Regions from separate parts of the Homo sapiens genome. Here region 1 is linked to region 2. The links are contacts of gene promoters, found by promoter capture Hi-C in blood cells and fetal thymus (Javierre and others, 2016). All regions are on one chromosome and are shown on one strand. The core of a region is centred on a gene start or on the middle of the fragment in contact, and the rest is flanking DNA. Distances in the headings are between cores, read along the strand shown.

Evidence for each region. Contacts are between HindIII fragments. The CHiCAGO score rates a contact against its expected background, and 5 or more counts as called.
Region 1: the fragment with the promoter of ARHGEF18-AS1 here is called in contact with the fragment with the promoter of INSR in region 2 in 2 of 17 cell types (fetal thymus and monocytes); the score reaches 7.5 in fetal thymus.

Annotation. Positions count from the first base shown.
Region 1 is chr19:7,391,085-7,397,669 of GRCh38, reverse strand. ARHGEF18-AS1 (ARHGEF18 antisense RNA 1) reads left to right here and starts at 2,611. Exons shown (of 2, transcript NR_186326.1): 1 at 2,611-2,677. The region is part of intron 10 of ARHGEF18 (Rho/Rac guanine nucleotide exchange factor 18); the gene reads right to left. RefSeq lists an enhancer at 1,744-1,923 and silencers at 2,134-2,703, 2,412-2,852. The HindIII fragment of the contact is 12,223 bases long and covers 1,871-6,585 here.
Region 2 is chr19:7,288,766-7,296,005 of GRCh38, reverse strand. INSR (insulin receptor) reads left to right here and starts at 1,592. Exons shown (of 22, transcript NM_000208.4): 1 at 1,592-2,214. The coding sequence starts at 2,115. RefSeq lists silencers at 1,011-1,190, 1,331-1,720, 1,741-2,020, 2,161-2,300, 2,351-2,410 and enhancers at 2,392-3,150, 7,053-7,240. The HindIII fragment of the contact is 11,558 bases long and covers 1,542-7,240 here.

The DNA.
Region 1 (6,585 bases), core at 1,362-3,861, 100 kb before region 2:
CCTCTACCTCCCGGGTTCACGCCATTCTCCTGCCTCAGCCTCCTGACTAGCTGGGACTACAGGCACACGCCATCATGCCCAGCTAATTTTTTGTATTTTTAGTAGAGACGGGGTTTCACCGTGTTAGCCAGGATGGTCTCAATCTCCTGACCTCGTGATCTGCCCCCCCCCGGGCCTCCCAAAGTGCTGGGATTACAGGTGTGAGCCACCGCACCCGGCCCAAAAAATTTTTAAAAATTAGCCAGACATGGAAGCGCGTGTCTGTAGTCCCAGCTACTTGGGAGTTTGTGGCAGGAGGATTATTTGAGCCCAGGAGTTCGAGGCTGTAGTGAGCTATGATTGTGCTATTGCACTCCAGTCTGGGCAACAGAGTGAGACCCTGTCTCTAAAAAGAAAAAAAAAATTTTAAGTAAAATCACATACTAATTTCAGAAGAAAACAAAAACTAAATAAGCTATACAAAACCAAAACAAAGTAACGTTTACAAAAATGAAATGTATTATGCCTGCCAGCTGTTTGCTCTTTTTTGCTCTAGAACAAACACATCTTCATTTTTTTTTTTTTTTTTTTTTCGCAAAAAGGCTTGCTGACCTACAGAAATAGGAAACTACTGATAAAGCGTAAACCCTGACTCGGTCCAAACAACATCCGAGATGCTCAAATTTTCCAAACTCTTTATAATTTGGAATGTTAACCTAAACATCCAAGCCTGGGAGCATTCGCATATGCAAAGGGTGTATAACACTGATGGAAAGTTTGCCATATGCCAGACACTTCTGTGATGCACCTTACACAGATTACTTCATAGAAACCCCAACCAACCCTTATTCCCATTTTAAAGATGGGAAGACGGAAACTTAGTGAAGTTACACGGCTAACAGGTGGTGGAACTGGGACCAGAACCCAGCTCGGATCTGACCTCAAGCCTGTGCTCCTGACACTTCTTTTTTTTTTTTTTTAGACAGTCTTGCTCTGTCGCCAGGCTGGAGTGCAGTGGCCCGATCGCGGCTCACTGCAACTTCTGCCTCCCGAGTTCAAGTGATTCCCCTGCCTCAGCCTCCAGAGTAGCTGGAACTACAGGCGCCCGCTACCATGCCCGGCTAATTTTTGTATTTTAGTAGAGATGGGGTTTCACCATGTTGGCCAGGATGGTCTCGATCTCCTGACCTCGTGATCCACCCACCTTGGCCTCCCAAAGTGCTGGGATTACAGGCTTGAGCCACCGCGCCCAGCCTCTCCTGACACCTCTTACAGCTGGAGGATTAATCATTCACTCAGACACCTGCAAAACTCATCCCTTGGCCACTGGGCTGTCTATACTGTCCTGAACTCTCTCTCTGGTCAATGGGAAGAGAATGGGGCCCTTCAAAGCTACTGGCTGGAGCTTCATCTCCGCGAAAACAAGGCAAAGGGGAAAAGGTGTGTTGGCCGCTTCGCTTCCGTGGTAAAACTTTAAGAATGTTTTTTAATCCTGTGGTCCAGGCTTTAATCTCAACAGAGCAAGAGATAAGGGGCAGATAGCCACAGCAAAACACTCAAGTGCTAGTAGAATTAACGCAGGAAAAGAAAACCAAATACTGCACTTTCCCACTTGTAAGTGGAGCTAAACCTTGGGTACTCATGGACACCAAGAAGACAACAGAAACTGGGCTCTACTAGAGCGGGAAGGGAAGGAGGAGGTCAAGGGTTGAAACTATCTATTGAGTACTATGCTCAGTACCTGGGTGACGAGATCAGTCACACCCCAAACCTCAGCATCACGCAATATATCCAGGTAACAAACCTGTACATGTACCCCCTCAATCTCAAATAAAAGTTGAAATTTAAAAACGTAAAACAAAACGAAACATGTAAGGACCAGGGGAAAGCTTCTCGTTCCCGTCCGCAATGAAAGCACCAACTGAGTTCTTATACAAGAAACTAAAACCCATGGCACAGATAGTTCTCACGGTTTTGCACCCAAACGCTCCCTGCCAGGGAGGGCTGTCTGCTCCGGGGTGTGAGGGTTCTCCCGGGAGGCCTGAAATACGACGGTGCTGGGTATTGTGGTGGGTTCCATTCCATCCCTGGTCCTGCCCCGGGCGCTCCTGAACGAGGAGCAGAGGCTGGGGCCCAAGTGACCCCTCCTCTCCTCTCCTGGAGGAGAGTAAGCCGTAGCACCCCAGGACTGGCTGGGGCTCGGACGGAGCGGGCGGGCATCGTCTGCACCTCTGCACCCTGCAATCGCCGCCTAGAGCCTCCATGCATTGAAGGAGCAGCCTGCACCCCAGCACCCGTTCGCCTGCCTGGAGAAGTCCCCCAGGAGCCGGCGGGAGGCCCGAGGCAGCCCCGGGGGTCCCGCGCCCCAGGCCACCCCCTGAAGAGACCGAGGGCCCCCTCCTGAGCCCCGTTTTCCTCGGGACCGCCCCGCCGCCGTCCTCACCTCGGCCCGATCGCCCGCAGGCCGCTCTCCGCCAGCTCCTCTGCCACTCTCGCAGCCGCCTCCGATGCCTCCGTCCGGCCCCCCCAGATCCACAGTAGCTAGCAGCTGGGAGCCGGAAGCGGGAAGCCGCGCGAGGAGAGCAGCGCATGCGCGATCCCGCCTCGGAGGCGGGGCAGAGGGCGTGACCCGGAAGGAGGCGTGCCCTCGAGGGCGGGGCGCTCCCGGGGACCTGGGGCTGCTGCTCCCCGAGCCGTGGTGAGGGGGCGTCGGCTCGGCCTTGAGAGGGGCGCGGGCACCGAAGTGGGAGGGTGCTCGCGGCGAGGGTGAGGGCGACTTTTGAGGGGCGGGTCAGCGGGGTTGGGGGGCTTTTTGAAGGAGAGCAATGCGAGCCTGGCTGTCAGTAGGGCCGGGGGCTCTGAGGGGACAGCTGGGTTGCGGGGATCCAGAGGGAGAGCAGCAGGGTTAGGTGGGCGTTTTGTGGGGTTAACGGAAGCCTGGGTGATTAGCGCGGCTGGGGAGGGAGTCCTGAGGAGGACAGCGGTTTGGAGAATCTCAAGGGGGGTACAGCACAGTTAGGGGGACCCTGAGGGAGGACAGCGGGGTTGGGGGACCCCAAGGGAGGACAGCGGGGTTGGGGGGACCCCGAGGGAGGACAGCGGAGTTGGGGGACCCCGAGGGAGGATAGCGGGGTTAAGGGGACCCCAAGGGAGGACAGTGGAGCTGGGGGTGTTTTGGAAGAATCAACGGATGCCTGGAGGGGTTGTCAGTGGGCTCCTACGGGCTCGTTAGGATTGGAAGTACCTAAGGGGGGCACTCCCAGTGGTGGGGAGTCCTAGCGGGGAGAGTCCAAGAAATGGAGAGGGCAGGGTCTGTCACCTGAGAAAAAAGAAGCAGCATCAGGGAGTGGTGGGGGGATCACTTCATCCCAGGAGTTCAGGACCACCAGTCTGGGCAACATAGCAAGACCCCATCTCTACAAAACATTTTTTAAAATGAGCAGGGCATGGAGGCGCCTGCCTGTGGTCCCAACTCCTCCAGAGGCTGAGGTGGGAGGATGACTTGAGCCTGGGAGGTCCAGGCTGCGGTGAGCTATGATCATGCCTCCAGAGGCTGAGGTGGGAGGATGACTTGAGCCTGGGAGGTCCAGGCTGCAGTGAGCTATAATCATGCCACTGCACTCCAGCCTGGACAACAGAGCAAGACTCTGTCTCAAAATAACAACAACAAAAAAAGAGGCAGCATAGACTTCAGAAAGGTGGGTCTGGGAAAAATGAATCATATACCTCTCCAGTGGTCTCAGACACCCCAACATAGATACCATCAGATCCCCTAAACACAGGCACCCAGGCAGGTGCCATCAGATACCCAAAACAGGCTTCCAGGTAACCCCCAAATATGTCAGACACTCCACATAGGTCCAGCAGATACCCCCAAACACATACTAGATAACCCCAATACAGATGCTGTCAGATACCCTCAAACAGGTGCTCAGAGTCTGAAACACATACCATACCCTCCCCTATCCACTTCCACACAGGTGCTATTTGGCAGATGTGGATAGGCCAGATGCTTCCCCCAGCACCAGCAACCTCTCAATTGCCATCAGACACCCCAGTCTTGAGGTTGCCTGTCTAATCCAAGTCCTGCCACAGGGGAGGCAGTTGAACAGTAACCAGGAGTCGAGCAGAACAGCTCTCACCAAGGTTGGCTGGTCAGCCAGGCCTAGAAGATCTCCCCATGGCCAGGCAAGACGGCTCATGCCTGTAATCCTAACACTTTGGGAGTCTGAGGAGGGAGGATCACTTGAGTCCAGGAGCTTTGAGATCAGCCTGGGAAACCTCGCATGACCCAGTCTCTATTTTAGAAAAAAAGATTTCCCCAAACCCAATCACTTCAAAACATGCACAATATGTTGTTGAGAGTCCCCAGTTCAGAAGCTGGAGGGTTGCGTCCCCAGGTGGACTAGCCTTCAGTTCAAGTCCAACCTTCATGGTCCAGAGGAAGGGAGCATGTTCAGGGAATTGGATGTCCCAGAAATGCAAGACGTAATTCACCAGGCACCCTACTGCAGCTGAGGTCAGAAACTCTAACACGGGAGTTTATGAGGGCTCAATGGTTGGGCAGCTGTGTAGCTGTGGCTTATGGACTTAGGGGCATGAACCTTATTTTTTTTCCTTTTTTTTTTTTTTTTTTTTTTTTTGAGACAGGATCTCACTCTGTCACTTAGGCTGGAAGTGCAGTGGCACAATCATAGCTCATTGCAGCTTCCATCTCCTGGGCTCAAGTTGTCCTCCCACCTCAGCCTCCCAAGTAGCTGGGACCACAGGCACACACCACCACGTCTGGCTAATTTTTTTGTAGAGACAGAGTTTCGCCATGTTGCCTAGATTGGTCTCGAACTCCTGAGCTCAAGTGATCTGCCCGCCTGGGCCTCCTATGATGCCAGGATTGTAGGTGTGAGCCATCATGCCCGGCCTTTGAACCTTATTTCTTTCTTTCTCTTTTTCTTTCTTTTTTTTTTTTTTTCTTTCTTGAGACAGAGTCTCACTCTGTCACCCAGGCTGCAGTGTAGTGGTACCATCTAGGCTCACTGCAGCCTCCACCTCCTGGGTTCAAGTGATCCTCCTGCCTCAGCCTCCCGAGTGCTGGAATTACAGGTATGCACCACCAAGCCTGGCTAATTTTTGTGTTTTTTTTTTGTTTTTTTTTCAGTAGAGTCAGGGTTTCACCATGTTGGCCAGACTGGTCTTGAACTCCTGACCTCAAGTGATCCTCCCACCCTGGCCTCCCAAAGTGCTGGGATTACAGGCGTGAGCCACTGGGTCTGGCCATCAGCCTTATTTCTATAGCTATCTTGGTTATAGGAAACTTCAGGTGGACACAGCCCTCCCCTAAACATAGAAACCAACTTTCTCAGAGACAACTAGGAAGGAGAAACATCTCCCATCTTTCTTTTATCCATCCAACCATTCTGCATTTATGAGTCTTTTTTTTTTTTTTTTTTTTTGAGACGGAGTCTCACTCTGTTGCCCAAGCTGGAGTGCAGTGGTGCCATCTTGGCTCACTGCAAACTCCACCTCCCAGATTGAAGCAATTCTCCTGCCTCAGCCTCCCGAGTAGCTGGGATTGCAGGCACCCGCCACTACATCTGGCTAATTTTTGTATTTTTTGTAGAGATGGGGTTTTACCATGTTGGCCAGGCTGGTCTTGAACTCCTGACCTTAGGTGATCTGCCTGCCTCAGCCTCCCAAAGTGCTGGGATTACAGGCGTGAGCCACCACACCTGGCCTCATTTATGAGTCTTTAGCATGGACCAGGGGCGCTAGGAGCTAAGGAGATGCAAGGAGCTTAGGCCCAGAGCAGGGTTTTCTCAGCTTGGCACTTTCGACAATTAGGGCTGGATAATTCTCGGTGGTGGTGGCAGGGGTGGTCTCCTATGCACTGGAGGGTGTTGAGCGGCATCCCTGGTCTCTACCTCCTAGATGCCAGTGGCTCCCCTGGTCCTGAAAAAAATGCCTCCAGATGTTTCCTTGGCTGAGAGCAACTGGCCTAAGAGACATTCAGACACTTATCCAGCCTAATTCCGACTTCCTGGAGGAAGTGGGCCTGGGCTTTGTCTTAAAAGGATGAGTAAGAGTTAGGTGGGAGAGGGAGTTCCAGGAACAGCGCTGGATGAGCAAGGCACAGCGTATGTGTATGACGTGTATGAACAGCCATGAGACTTCAGGGTGACTGGGCCGTGGAGTCCGGAGAACCTGAGTAGTGGGAGAGAAGCGTGGAGGGATAGGTGGGGTTGAATTATAAACAGCCTCAAAGGTCAAGGCCAGGAACAGGACTGTCTGGCGTGGTGTCTGTTCTCTGAAAAGCATCCCAACTTTATCGTGGAGACCCACCTTCTCTAATTACCTGGAGTATGACTCATTCTCTGTTCTGTTTGTTTAACTTACTGTGAGGCTGTTTCCTCCGTCTGTCCCACGGACGGGAGGAAACGGGACAGACTGTCACGTTGACTTTGAATACCTTTAAAAGCAGGTAGGCCTGTGGGGAGTTATACCTTGGGAGGACTTTTCTCAGCCTGCTGGGAATGAGACATGGGTGTTTTGGCCCCTTCATGCCTCCTGACACAGGTGGGGAGGGGTTTGTTGTCAGAGAACAGGGTTAGG
Region 2 (7,240 bases), core at 343-2,842:
ACAATTGCAGGTAGTGGGGTAAACATGCTATGAAAATGAGAGAGAAGGGGCCAGGCGCAGTGGCTCAGGCCTGTAATCCCAGCACTTTGGGAGGCCAAGGCCGGTGGATCACCTGAGGTCAGGAGTTTGAGACCGGCCAGGCCAACATGGTGAAATCCTGTCTCTACTAAAAATACAGAAAATTAGCTGGGTGTGCTGGCGCATGCCTGTAATCCAAGTTACTTGGGAGGTTGAGGCAGGAGAATCACTTGAACCCAGGCAGGTGATGTTGCAGTGAACTGAGATCTGGCCATTGCACTCCAGCCTGGGCAACAGAGAAAAACTCCATCTAAAAAAAAAAAAAAAAAAAAAAAAAAAAAAAAAAAAAAAAAAACAGAGAGAGAGAGAGAGAGAAGGAAACGGAACTGGGGGGAGGATTTGCAAAAATATGGTTAGGGATGGCACTTCAGAGATGAAGCCATCCTGGAGTGTTACGGGCAAGGGAAATGCTGGGGCAAAGGCCCAGAGGCAGGAATAGGTTTGGCCTGTTGCATGAACAGTGGGTCCAGCTCCTAGCAAACTGTTTATTGAATGAAAGAAGAATGAATGCCTTGGGTCTAGGGTTGTGCTGGGCGCTTTCTTAAGTTTTCTTTCCCGGGTACCTCCCCAGAACTGGCATGCAGGTATTATTAAACCCATTACACAAGTGAAACTGGCCCAGAGACAGAAAAGTCCCTGGTCCAAGACCACACAGGAGTGAGGGGTGGAGGAACCCTCCTCCCATTGAGTTCTGGCTTTCCTATACTGAAAGCCCCTTCCTCTCCTGCAGTAAGGTAGGTGGAACCGCTGTCCCGCCTTGTTGGTGAATGTCGTTGCTAGACTTCAGACACATACAGGCTGGTCTGCTGAAAATCAGAGATGTCCACCTGCGCCCTATTCGAGGTCTCCGGCGTCTTCTTTGGCGTCGTCTTTGCCCTTTCAGAAGCGTCTGCACATTTTTCCAGGTGTCATTTCTCCAACTTGAACACAGGGAGCGCACTGGGCACGCGGGCACGTGGCTGTCCCCAGGGGCCTGGCTTGGGTCTCGCCCCTGGGCCGGGGCGCACTCGCGGGCGGGACATCTGGGGGCGCCCACGCGCTCTGGGACGAGTGTCGCTGGCCAGGCCCGGACTGAGGAAAGGCGAGTGAGACACTACTCGCCTGGGGTGCAAAATTTAAGGGAGTGAAAAAAAAAAAAAAAGAAAGAAACCAAAACCACCTCGAGTCACCAAAATAAACATTTTAATGCAGTATTTTTTAAAAAATCAACAGGAATCCTCCAAAGCCCACTATGAACAAAATAGCAAAATGGTAGAGAAAGGATCTGTGCCGCTGCGTCGGGCCTGTGGGGCGCCTCCGGGGGTCTGAAACTGGAGGAGACTCGGGGCTGTAGGGCGCGCGGATCTGGGGCGCGCCCTCGGTCCCGGCGCGCCCAGGGCCTCCCGCGCGGGGCCCGGCACAGGGAGGCGGGGAGGCGGGCGGGGCGGGGCGGGGCCGGGCGGCACCTCCCTCCCCTGCAAGCTTTCCCTCCCTCTCCTGGGCCTCTCCCGGGCGCAGAGTCCCTTCCTAGGCCAGATCCGCGCCGCCTTTTCCCGCGGCCCGCACGGGGCCCAGCTGACGGGCCGCGTTGTTTACGGGCCCGAGCAGCCCTCTCTCCCGCCGCCCGCCCGCCACCCGCCAGCCCAGGTGCCCGCCCGCCAGTCAGCTAGTCCGTCGGTCCGCGCGTCCCTCTGTCCCGGAGCCCGCAGATCGCGACCCAGAGCGCGCGGGGCCGAGAGCCGAGAGACAGTCCCGGGCGCAGCGCGGAGCTCCGGGCCCCGAGATCCTGGGACGGGGCCCGGGCCGCAGCGGCCGGGGGGTCGGGGCCACCACCGCAAGGGCCTCCGCTCAGTATTTGTAGCTGGCGAAGCCGCGCGCGCCCTTCCCGGGGCTGCCTCTGGGCCCTCCCCGGCAGGGGGGCTGCGGCCCGCGGGTCGCGGGCGTGGAAGAGAAGGACGCGCGGCCCCCAGCGCCTCTTGGGTGGCCGCCTCGGAGCATGACCCCCGCGGGCCAGCGCCGCGCGCTCTGATCCGAGGAGACCCCGCGCTCCCGCAGCCATGGCCACCGGGGGCCGGCGGGGGGCGGCGGCCGCGCCGCTGCTGGTGGCGGTGGCCGCGCTGCTACTGGGCGCCGCGGGCCACCTGTACCCCGGAGAGGGTGAGTCTGGGGGCGCGGGCGTGGGCGGGGAGCGCCGCGATGGGGAGAGGACCCCACCCAAGCCAAAATCGAGCCCCCGCTTGTGGACTGAGAACCCTCCCCAGGGGCGGGGGGCGGTGGCCAGGACGGTAGCTCCTGCATCGCGTAGGGGGAGCGGGAAGCCTCTGACCTTGGCCTTTGCCCGCCCGGGCTCGCGCCTCCGCGCCCTGCGTGCCCGACCTGAGCCCGAGGAACCTTGCCCCGGTGCCCGCCCCGCCGCGGGCTCCTCTCTGGAGCGCGCCTCCGACCCGTGCCCCGGCCCCTCCGAGCCCAAGTCGCTCCGGAGACACGACACGCGTCATCTTTGGGTCGCGGCCGGGAAGTGGGGTCACTGGGTCTGGACAGCCCCGAACAGCCAAGTCCCCCGAGCGCATATGGTGTAGGTAGAGCCAAGCGCCCTGAGTGCCTCACCGGTGGGTGACGCTGCCTGGGGTCAGGGACTGCAGAGCCCCCCTCTACCCAACTACCTTGGATCTAGGCCCGTGGCCACCCCGGACTCTAGGTCCATGTTTACCCTTTTGGGTTCTGTTTCCAGATGTCCGGAGGCAAATTCTAAAGCCTTAGCAACAGCAGCAATTGTAGCAGAAGTAGTGGCGGTTTTTTACCCTATTTATTGTAATTGGTATCACCGCACGCCACAGCCTAGTCTATCTTATCTCTCTGGACTGTCACAGTGGCCCCCGGAGGCAGATACAGTTATGCACCCATTTCACAGAGGAGTAAACTGAGGCTCATGTAGGACGCATAACTCCCTTGCCCTAAAGTCAGTGCCAGAGCCAGGACTTGAGCCTCTGTGTGTCCCGTTCTGCCCAAGAATCTGGACTACTGTCCCTTGTCTGCTGTCTCCTTGACCCCTCCTCTCCCCTCAGCCCTGCGCTTCATGAAGGAGCCTTTGACCTTGAGTGAGCCTTTCGTTCCCCCTGACCCCATGGGCCCCTCTCCCACGTGTGGGCAGCATCTTCCTTGGGCTTGACAATAGGCACCTTTGGGGTTGTAAGATGAAGATGGCGCAATCATTTAAGGAATATAGCCTGGGTTTCCCACTGTGGGGTCTGAGGCCCTGCTTTAAAAATATCTGTTGGGTTACTGTTTCAGATTTCTCCATAAAAGGAAATCAGTCGTGATGAGGAAGGGGTCAGGGAGGGAAGGAATTGAAGCTCTTAAATGTATTGATGGGGAAACGGGTGCATGTAAAATCAGGTGCTAGAGTGGACCAACCGGGTTTGCTGAGTCGACTCTGTCAATCACATAATGTCTAAAAGCCCCGGGCCCACCCCCCCCCAGCCCCGCCCCCAGGTGCCTGGGAGACAGTAGGTGCTCAATGAAGGGTGGCGGTTAGTTGGAGTTCTTGTTAAGAAAATCTGGCCAGCTGCGGTGGCTCAAGCCTGTAATCTCAGCATTTTGGGAGGCTGAGGCGGGCGGATCACGAGGTCAGGAGATGGAGACCATCCTGGCCAACATGGTGAAACTCCCTTCTCTGCTCAAAATACAAAAATTACCTGGGTTTGGTGGCGTTCGCCTGTAGTCCCAGCTACTTGGGAGGCTGAGGCGGGACAATTGCTTGAACCCGGGAGGAGGAGGTTGCTGTGAGCTCAGATGGCACCACTGCACTCCAGCCTGGCCAAAGAGCGAGACTTTGTCTCAAAAAAATAAAAAAAAAGGCGGGGCGTGGTGGCTCACGCTTGTAATCCCAGCACTTTGGGAGGCCGAGGCGGGTGGATCACCAGTTCAGGAGATCACGACCATCCTGGCTAACACGGTAAAACCCTGTCTCTACTGAAAAATAGAAAAAATTAGCCGGGCGTGGTGGCGGGCGCCTGTAGTCCCAGCTATTCCGGAGGCTGAGGCAGGAGAATGGCGTAAACCCGGGAGGCGGAGCTTGCAGTGAGCCAAGATCGTGCCACTGGGCGACAGAGCGAGACTCTGTCTCAAAAATAAATAAATAAATAAAAAGAAAATCCAAGATGAGTGGTTTCGAACTATGCCAGATTCTATGTGTGCGTGTGTGTGGTTCCCTGTTCTTCTGTTCCTTGTAGCTTTGGTAATTAATTGTGGATCTGTGCCTGGGCTTTCAGGGTCAGTAAATGGATTTACCATTTCTTTGCACATTTATGGCTTCCATATGGGCAGGGGTTTATGGTTTGTTGTTGTTCACCGTTGCATTTCTAGAGCCCAGAACGATGCCTGGCACATAGTAGGTGTTCAGTAAATATTTGTTCTGCAGTGGGGCACAAGTGGTGGAGTTCCTGGGTGTACTGGGCTCCTTTATCATCTTAAGGAGTTCCTTATTCTCTGCATAATACCTTCCTAAGAATTAGAAGAGCAAGCTCTCAGCAGGTGCTGTTCTATGCGCTTTGCATATATAATCTCAGTTAATCCTCACGGCAAAACCCCACGAGGTGCGGTTTAATCTTCCCTTTTCACAAGTGAGAAAACTTCGCTTGAGGCCAGCAGGCAGCAGGGCTGGGATTGCAATCTAGCTAGTGTGGCTGCAGAGCAATGGTTTCTTAACAAATCTTTGTTCTTTTGAGTCCGAGCCTCCGTACCCCCCACGATTGGGGTGATGGTGAACAAAATCCTGTCAAATAAATGGGCTGTGATGCCTCTTGAAGGCTTGGGGAGGGGCAAAGAACTTTTCAGATCATTAATCTCTAATGTCAACCAATATGGCTTTTTTTTTTTTGAGACGGAGTCTTGCTCTGTCACCCAGGCTGGAGTGCAGTGGCACGATCTCAGCTCACTGCAACCTCCACCTCCCAGGTTCAAGGGATTCTCCTGCCTCAGCCTCCCCAGTAGCTGGGATTACAGGCGTGTTCCACAACACCGGCTTATTTTTTGTATTTTTAGTAGAGACAGGGCTTTGCTGTGTTAGCCAGGATGGTCTCGACCTCCTGATCTTGTGATCCACCCGCCTCGGCCTCCCAAAGTGTTGGGATTACAGGAGTGAGCCACCGTACCTGGCCTTTTTTTTTTTCTTTTTTTTTTTTGAGACAGGGTGTCACTCTGTCACCCGGGCTGGAGTGCAGTGACACGATCTTTGCGACCTCCGCCTTTCAGGTTCAAGTGCATCTCCTGCCTCAGCCTCCTGAGTAGCTGGGATTACAGTCGTGTATCACCACCCTTGGCTAATTTTTGTATTTTTAGTAGAGATGGGATTTCGCCATATTGGTTAGGCTGGTCTCAAACTTCTGACCTCAAGTGATCTGCCTGCCTCGGCCTTCCAAAGACCTGGGATTATAGGTGTGAGCCATCACTCCGGGCCCAATATGGCATTTTGATTGGGATGAAGGGTGGAGGAAAATCAGTGTGATTTTTGTATCTATCTCTCTAGCTATCTATTATTTTTTGAGATGAGGTCTTGCTCTGTTGCTTAGGCTGGAGTGCAGTTGGGCAATGATGGCTCACTGCAGCCTCGACCTCCTGGACGCAAGCCATCCTCCTATTTTAGCCTCCGTAGTAGCTGGGACCACAGGCACACGCCACCCTGCCTGGCTAATTTTTACTTTAATGTGTAGAGCTGAAGTCTTGCTATTTTGTCCAGGCTGGTCTCAAACTCCTGGCCTCAAGCGATCTGCCTGCCTTGGCCTCCCGAAGTGCTGGGATCACAGGCATGAGCCACGGTGTCTGGCCTCTGCAGTTATTCTTATTCTTTGCTTCTCTCCTGGAGACCTGCTTCTTGCCCTTCCCCATTCATGCATAGAGACCACAGGGTGTGGGCTGAGTCCCCAGGGCTCCCCACCTCACCCCACTCTACCCTTGACTTCCATTCCTCTTTGGTTTAAGCAGAACTCTCAATCTTGGCACTGCTGACATTTGGGGCTGGATCATTCCTGGTGGTGGGGGCTGTCCTGTATGTAGAGTGTTGAGCTGGAACCATGGTCTCCACCCATGTGGTCCTGGGAGGATCCCCTTCCCCCCAGGCATGACAACCACTAATGTCTCCAGACATTGCCAGGCACGTCTCTGCAGGAGTTAACCTTTTCCCTGTCTGAGACATTTACCCATCTGGGCTCTTGCTCTTTCTCCTCTCTTTGTTCAATAATCCTCGGCCGGGTGCAGTGGCTCACGCCTGTAATCCCAACACCTTGGGAGGCTGAGGTGGGCGGATCCCCTGAGGTCAGGAGTTTGAGACCACCCTGGCCAACATGGTGAAACCCCATCTCTACTAAAAATGCAAAAATTAGCCAGGTGTGGTGGCGGGTCCTTGTAATCCTAGCTACTTGGGAGGCTGAGGCAGGAGAATCGCTTGAACCTGGGAGGCAGAGCTTGCAGTGAGCCGAGATCACACCATTGCATTCTAGCCTGGGCAACAGAGAGAGACTCTGTCTCAAAAAAAAAAAAAAAAAAGAAAAGAAAAAAGAATCTTCATTTACCCACGTGCTTTTTCAGCCTCTAAACACCCAGTACCCCCCAATCCCCATTACCTACCACTGACCTCCAGCCTCCACCCTGTCCAGCTTCCCCAGGCCAGTCCTCCCTGCCCTTTCCATCTCACTCTTTTCTCACTGTTCTGCCCCCAGCATCTGGCTTGCATCTCCGCTGCTTTACCGATGGCTCTCGAAGTTAATCTCTCATCTCCCAGTTGCGTCTCCTGCAGCCTCACCTCACTTGACCCCTCTGGGTTTGACATTGCCAGTCCCCCCTCCTGGAAGGCTGTGTCTCCCGTCTCACCTGTGCCTAAGTTCTTCTGTTTTACTGTTCTCTTCTCCTTCTACCTGGGCTAAGATGTTGGCTCTCTCTTCCCAGAGGGTCAGTGTTTCCTTTAATCTTCTCTCAGCTCACTTTTTTTTTTTTTTTTTTTTCACTTCTTCACCCGGGCTGGTGTGCAATGGCATGATCTTGGCTCACTACAACCTCCGTCTCCTGGGTTCAAGCAATGGTCCTGCCTCAGCCTCTCCAGTAGCTGGAATTACAGGCATGTGCCACCCCGCCTGGCTAGTTTTTGTACTTTTAGTAGAGACAGAGTTTCACCCCATTGGCCAGGCTG